2 separate regions of the Homo sapiens genome follow, and region 1 is linked to region 2. The links are contacts of gene promoters, found by promoter capture Hi-C in blood cells and fetal thymus (Javierre and others, 2016). All regions are on one chromosome and are shown on one strand. Each heading gives the region's core, a stretch centred on a gene start or on the middle of the fragment in contact. The rest is flanking DNA. Distances are from core to core; before and after follow the strand shown.

What was found. The method cuts DNA at HindIII sites, captures the fragments that hold promoters and counts their contacts. A CHiCAGO score of 5 or more calls a contact.
Region 1: a fragment that was not itself captured here is called in contact with the fragment with the promoter of NPL in region 2 in 4 of 17 cell types (M0 macrophages, M1 macrophages, neutrophils and 1 more); the score reaches 9.4 in M0 macrophages.

What each region holds. Positions count from the first base shown.
Region 1 is chr1:182,192,045-182,195,499 of GRCh38, reverse strand. No RefSeq gene overlaps it. Among named protein-coding and RNA genes, the nearest start is that of LINC01344, 120 kb to the left of the region's middle. The HindIII fragment of the contact is 7,202 bases long and covers 1-3,455 here.
Region 2 is chr1:182,787,228-182,791,088 of GRCh38, reverse strand. NPL (N-acetylneuraminate pyruvate lyase) reads right to left here and starts at 1,316. Exons shown (of 13, transcript NM_030769.3): 1 at 1,284-1,316. RefSeq lists an enhancer at 1,163-1,663. The HindIII fragment of the contact is 6,627 bases long and covers 1-2,459 here.

The DNA of each region.
Region 1 (3,455 bases), core at 198-2,697, 600 kb after region 2:
GCTATCATCTATATATATATCTGTTATCCATATAATGATTTCTTTGCATACTTACAAGCACATTCTTACAAGCGGGATTTCTGGCTAAAGGGTACTTGTATTTCTAAGGCTTTGTACCAGCTGTCCCTCCAGCCTGGACTGTTCTTTTTTAAGATCTTCACAAAGCTAGATTCTTCTTATCATTCAGGTTTCAACTTAAGTAGTACTTGATACCATATCACCTGCTTTGTTTTTACCATAGAACTCATCACTACCCTGTCTTTTATCTTTTGATTTACCAGTTCATTTTTCCCTCTCTCCACTAGAATGTAAGCTCCTCTTGAGAGCTCAATAAATGTAATTGTTGGAAACATGAGTAAATGATGAATGAATGAATGAATGAATGAATGAATAAATGAGTGAGTGTTACATGTAGAAATTAAAAACAAGGCAGCAAAATGTTAACCGTGGTTATAGATGTTTTATTCTTTATGCTTATCTAAATTTTTTAAATTTCTTGACATAAAAATATATGCTTTTGTAATCAGAAAAAGATCTGAAAAAACCTATATTTTTAAAGCATGGCTGAACCCACACAACAGTTGGGAGAACATAGTGAAAAATATCAAGAACCAAACTTAAATATAGTTTTGGAGAAAAGGAATAATGCAGAATATTGTTTACAGGGTATGTCTGGTTTTTATTTATGTTTTTGGATGGAGATGGTCTCATTTTGGCTATTTAGTGTTTTCTATATTTAGTGTTTGGTTATTTAGTGTTTAAGAATTTATTATAGATCAAGTGTATGTACTAATTAATAGCTACGTAGTGTTTTTGCTATTTGAATTGCAAATATGCTTAATTTAAAGAAATCTGTTAAAAAAGATAGGAAAGTTATTAGGCTAAACCAACAAAGCTGAAGTAAAAATGTTTATAAAATCTATTTTTTTTTTTTTACATTTTTTGCCTTAATTTCCACCTTAGAAGGACCTTCTGTTGGAAACTGGTTGCTCTTTACTTTGCCTTAGACTCATTTCTTTCTCTTTTTTTCTTAATTTTAGAGACAGGGTCATTCTCTGTCCCCCAGGCTGGAGTGTAGTGGTGCCATCATAGCTCATTGCATCATCAATGTCCTGGGCTCAAGCAATCCTTCCACCTCAGCCTCTCTAGTAGGTGGGACTACAGGAGCGCATTACCATGCCCAGCTAATTTTTTCAATTTTGTAGAGATAGGCTCTTGCTTTGTTGCCCAGGTTTGTCTTGAACTCCTAGCCTCAAGCGATTCTCCCATCTGGGCTTCCCAAAGTGTTGGTATACAAGCATGAGCCATTTCATGGGACCTGAGACTCATTTCTTGTGTCTGATGAGGCCAGCTCCTCCTCCAAGGTGACGTGCTACAACCAAGGCACTGTAGCCCAAGAGTATCTATTGCTTCACATTGGAACTGGACAGCTGGCTTGTGGTTTCATAGATTTCATAAACATGTTTCAGGCACCGAGGTATCTGTTGCAACTCCAGATGCTAAAGCCAGCAAGGAAGCCAGCTCTATAATGATCAGTTGGAAAGCCAGAATTTGAACTCTGGACCTGATAAACTCCCAGTGTCAGCTTTAGGAGATGAAATACAAATTCCTTGGGAAATCTAAGTAGCACATTTTTTTTCCCAATATATGTGCCATGGCAGTACAAATTTAACTGAGATAAACTGATGGTCTGGATAGGTTAAAGAAGATAATCACATGAGGTCAATAGCTGGGCTGAAGTAACTCTTGAATTTACCTGCTGTTGCTAAGCCTTGACTGCTGTTATGAGTCCTGATGCATGTAAGTCTCTGGGATATTTCCAACTATTTAAGAAATCTATGGGATGATGCTATAGGCTGAACATTTGTGTCCTCTAAAAATTCATATGTTGAAGCTCTAACCCCCAATGTGACTGTATTTGGAGATAGAGCCTTTACAAAAGCAATTATGGCTAAAGGAAGTGATACGGTTTGACTCTGTGTCCCCACCTCAAATCTCACCTTGAATCGTGTAATCCCCACGTGTCAAGAGTGGGACAAGGTGGAGATAACTGAATCATAGGGGCAGTTTCCCCCATGCTGTTCTCATGATAGTGAGTGAGTTCTCACAGGATCTGATGGTTTTGTTAGCTTCACTCAGCTCTCATTCTCTCGCGTGCCACCATGTGAAGAAGGTGCCTGCCTCCCCCTCAGCTTCTGCCATGATTGTAAGTTTCCTGAGGCCTTTCTAGCCATATGGAACTGTGAGTCAATTAAACCTCTTTCCTTTATACATTACCCAGTCTTGGGTATTTATTCATAGCAGCGTGAGAATGAACTAATACATCCATAAGGGTAGGGCCCTGATCTGACACAGTTAGTGTCCTTAGAAGAAGAGGAAGAGAGACAGGAAGGTGCTCTCACTTTCTCTCTGTATGTCTCTGTCTGTCTGTCTGTCTCTTTCTCTCTCTGCTCACCCACACCGAGGAAAAGCCACATGAACACACATGGAGAAGGTGGTCATCCACAGACCAGGAAGAGGACCCTCACCAGAACCTGACCTGGCACCCTGATCTCAGACTTATAGCCTCTAGAACTGTATAAAAATAAATTTGTTTTTTAAGCCACCCAGTATGTGATATATTCTGTTATGGCAGTCCAAGGACATTAAGACAGATAGGGACAGAAAGATGTCTTTTGGGAGTGAAGTCCCACAGTAAAGGTTAAAAAGAAAAGTACCCATTCTAGTAAAGAAAATGTGCAGGCATCTTAGCCAGGGTCACCCTTTTTAAGCACAGGTCAGATTATATCACTCCTTAGTTTAGAAGCCTTCCAAGATTCCCTGGACCTTATAGGACAAAGTTGAAACTTTTTGCATGGCTAACTTAGCCCTCCCAGCTCTACCAGAGCCTACAATTGGGGGCTCTGCTTCAGCCACCATCATCCTGCCCTGGTTGTGGCATGTCACCTTGGAGTAGAAGCTGGCCACAAAGGACTCAAGAAATGACCCTGGGTCAGAGTAAGAATCAACCAATCAGCGTTTCCAACAGAAAGTCCCTCTAAGGTGGCTTCAGCTTCTCTGCCTCAGAAGTTGGCCACAGCCAATGATAGCAATCTACTCATGGGGCTGTCCCTTCTGTCTTCTCATTGGTTTCACATTGATCCTCTCACTTTGCTCACCATATTCCCCCTGACTGAAGCATTTCTTCTGCCGATCCTTTCAAGGCCACCTGACTTCCTCCGTGAAGCCTACACTGATGCCCATTTCCTCCATTGCTATTCCATTGTTTTTAAGATGCACATTTGTTCACATCCTATCTTCTGTAGCAAACATTGTTGGTGTTCTGCCCAGATCCTCTTGGATTCTTTGTAGATTTCTGTGCACCTTTCCTCATATAAATGTGGGCTTCTGCTTCCAACTGCCTGCCCTTGCTATTCTCTTCAAAAGACTGCTCTAGGGCTGCCCAGAGCAGAGAG
Region 2 (3,861 bases), core at 67-2,566:
TTTGGCTCCTCTCCTAGACTGTCTGCCATCTGGGGGCAATGGCAGCTTGGAAAATTTCTTTGCACAGATAACTACACTACGTAAAAGTTTGCTGCCTTTGCAAACTTTGAAACGCCTACAGGAAGAAATGGGATAAAAACGACTTTGGCCGGGCGCGGTGGCTCAAGCCTGTAATCCCAGCACTTTGGGAGGCCGAGGTGGGCGGATCACCTGAGGTCAGGAGTTCGAGACCAGCCTGGCCAACATGGCCAAACCCCGTCTCTACTAAAAATACAAAATTAGCCGGGCGTGGTGGCGGGAGCCTGTAGTCCCAGCTACTCGGGAGGCTGAGGCAGGAGAATGGCGTGAACCTGGGAGGTGGAGCTTGCAGTGAGCCGAGATAGCGCCACTGCAGTCCGGCCTGGGCGACAAGAGCGAGACTCCGTCTCAAAAACAACAACAACAACAACAACAACAACAACAACAACAACAACAAAAGACTTTAACAGAGAATGATCAGTATTTTTAAGATTCAAGTTTTTAATAAACTTGGGAATGTTATGCTTTGAAGCATAACAGATAATTATCATTATTTTTAAGATTCAAGTTTTAGATAAACTTGGGAATGTTATGCTTTGAAGTTTTCAGAGCTCGTAGCTAAAGCGAATAGCTCAAATGTTCTCCAGCCTAAGGCTTAATGTGAATTTAGATTATTACTGAAACATTGGGAGGGGGTATTACTCTTGAAATCTTATACCTCCATCCACAGATAAGAACACTCAGTGCAAAGAATTAAAGCTGCCTAAGTCAAATTCTTTTTTAAATGGCAAAGTTGTTTTTTTAAGAGACAGAAAGTGAGGGCAGAATGTACCTCTGGGCAGAGAATATCTTGAGGGACAGGTACTCGGAGAAGAGGAGATACAAATAGGGATTTTTAAAAAAGCAGAAAACCACCAATTTCTCCTCAAGTGAAGGGGGGATGTATCAGGTTTAACTTTAAGCTCTCTTCTGCTCAATTGCTAACTCTATTTTGAGGAAAGGACCTTTGGAGACCCGGCAGATATGCTGTCTGCAAACAATCCGGGGGAGTAAGTTCTTCTGCCCCCGTCTGTCCCTACACTTTTCGCATTCACACCTTCCCCAGATCCGTTTCCCAGCGTATCTGCCTTCCCTCTTTCCTCCGGGTCCGTCAACGTCTCACCCACCCGCGAGTCAGGCCCCAGCGCCCCTCCGCCCGAACGCCCAGGTCGTCGGGCCGTCTGCGTCCGTCTGTCCTAGCCCGTGCCGTCGCGGGCCGCGCTCACCCAGGCCTCCGCTCTTGTCCGTGCAGCCGCTCCGCCCGGCAGCCGCCGCCGCGCTTTATATCCGCGGCCGCCCGGCTCGGGCCCACGTGCCGCCACGCCAGGGAGCCTGGGGGTTGTAGTTCTGCGCCGCCGCCCGCGAGGCGCGCCCGGAACCGCTGGCCCGGAAACCCCGAAACGTTTTGCACACTGGAGTCTGCTCTTCCCCGGGTGTCACCTGAACAACATGGGCTGAAGTGACTCCGGCGCAGCGCCCCGGCTCCCCGAGGATCGGAAGCATCCGAACTGGCGGCCGGGTGCCCGAGAGCACGCGGCTCACCCGCGCCACGCCGAGTGCAAACCTCCCCCTGCCTCGTCTGCACGCCAGTCCTTCCCGCGTGCGGGCACCTCCTGGGCTCCGCTGCGTCTTAATTTTCCTTCTCTTGCGCAGGGCTCTGCAATCCCCACTATCTCGTGGTTCTGCGTTGTGAGGTTTGGGCTGCTGTTTCCGAGGCGTACGGAGAATCCCAACTGCCCATCGGCGTTCAGGTCTCTTCGGGTTGACGCCGCTGCACCAGCCCTGCAGACTCTCGTGTTAAAGAGAGATGAGCGAATTTTAAAGTGAATTATCTACTCATACGGGAGCTTTCCTGGCTTCTTTTGGAGAACATTTGAAAGAGTTTTGAAAGGGAAAATTATTTTTAACCCAACCGCCTCTACTTTCAGGAGTATCAGGAGTCTTATTCTAGGATCATGTACTGTGTGAATAAATCAGGAACAGAGCCAGAGACAAGTCCTCAGTTTTCTCTTGCTGATGTGATTCCACCTCAATTTTCCATAAAAGGCGATGGCTGATGCTTATTATTACATTTAGAGAAACTAAATTGTTCAAAGGGCTTTCTAGTTTGCAAAGTGCTTTTAAATGTATTCTAATAGTTCTTTCGTTGCACAGAGCACCAGAGATAATAGCTAATAAGTACTGTGTTCAGTGCTTACTCAGCCTGCACCGTTCTAGCTGTTTTAACATTTAATTCATAAAATAATCCCATTGGTGGGTCCTGTTTTATAAATGTATATATTACAGATGAGCAAGGATCATTCCATTTTACAGATCAGAAACAGGTTTAAAGAGTTGAAGTAATTTGCCAAAAGCCATAGAGCTGGTTAAGCTGTGGTTTGATTTCAAGTAGTCCAGAAGCTTGTGCTTTTAACACTATGTTATCCTACAGGAAAAAAAAATACAAAAAGAAAAGAAAAAGAAAAACCCTTAGTTACATGAAGCAAGTTCTCCTAAGGCTGCAGCATGGTTTTTGTTTTGGTTTGGTTTTTGTAATATTAACAAGAATATTATATCCTAATGGTACAATGAAAGTTTTTTTTTTTTTTGGAAAGTCACAGTTTAATAAGTGCAAAATTAAGTATGTCAGTACCCAAAAGGTATAGGTCATTAGGCTTAACATTGTCAACCAACAAACCAATATTCTAAATGCATGAACTAACTACTTTTTGTATAAATATGGTAGTGCAAAGTAATTCCTTATAATAATTTGTTAGTGTCTACCAAGAAGCAGATGCTAAGATGGGATTAGATGTGCAAGAAACTTACTGGGGGAGGGATTTGGAGCAGACAGGAGCAGCCTGCAGACTGATGTAGGGCTGACATCTGTGGAACAAAAGATGGAAGAAAGGAGCATGGAGTAGGGAGAGTCTCACTGCATTCTTACAGTATCCACTCTGTGCCGTTATGAAACTCAGAGCCTATACTGTGAAGTGTTGGGGAGACGTTGTTTTAAAATATGGTAAATGCAGTGATAGACTGTACAGAGATATTACAGGAACACTGAGCTCTAATCTGGGCTGAAGGGGGTGGTGTGTGTGTGTGTGTGTGTGTGTGTGTGTGTGAAGAGGCAGGAGGGTGTTCCAGAAACGTCTTACTGGGGAAGGTCACAGCCAAGCTAAATATCAGACAATGAGTAGGGCTTAGAAGAAGAGAGGCAACAAAAGGCTCAGTGCTGAACTGCAGGCCTCTAACCCCCTTCTGATAAGCGGCAGTCTCTGTGAGATTTCTTCTATTATTATGTAGTATTATTTAATCATTAATTTTCTTGCTTTTGTTTCTTGCCCCCAACTCCACTGCAAGGTGTTCAAGGCAGGCATCATGTCCTATTCCTTTGTTTTTCCCACAGTGCAGGACATAGTGTCTATCCAAGTGCAGGCCAAGAGGGTGAGATTTAGAAATATTACTACCATCAACTCTTCTTTGTTTAAAACAAATGTATGTCAGGGTTTTGTATCAGATTTTGTTTGCTACAATTCAAATTTGAAACCCACTGGTGCAGGGGAAAGAGCTTGGGAGATATGGTGCAATGAACTTGGTCAGAACAGTCATATGTTCTATCCTTGGAGCTGGAGGTGATGCCCCCATCACAGGCTCCTGAACTGACTGTGGGTGAGGGGTGGTCCCCCAGAAAGTTTCCCCTTATCTTCTGGTAAGGCTATACTAACCTGAAAAGAGAAAATGGGTTTTCAACAACTGAAACACTGCTAAATTGCGGAACACTTATGAAGGAAGGAGACCTAAGTTGGATCTTGAAGTGTTGTT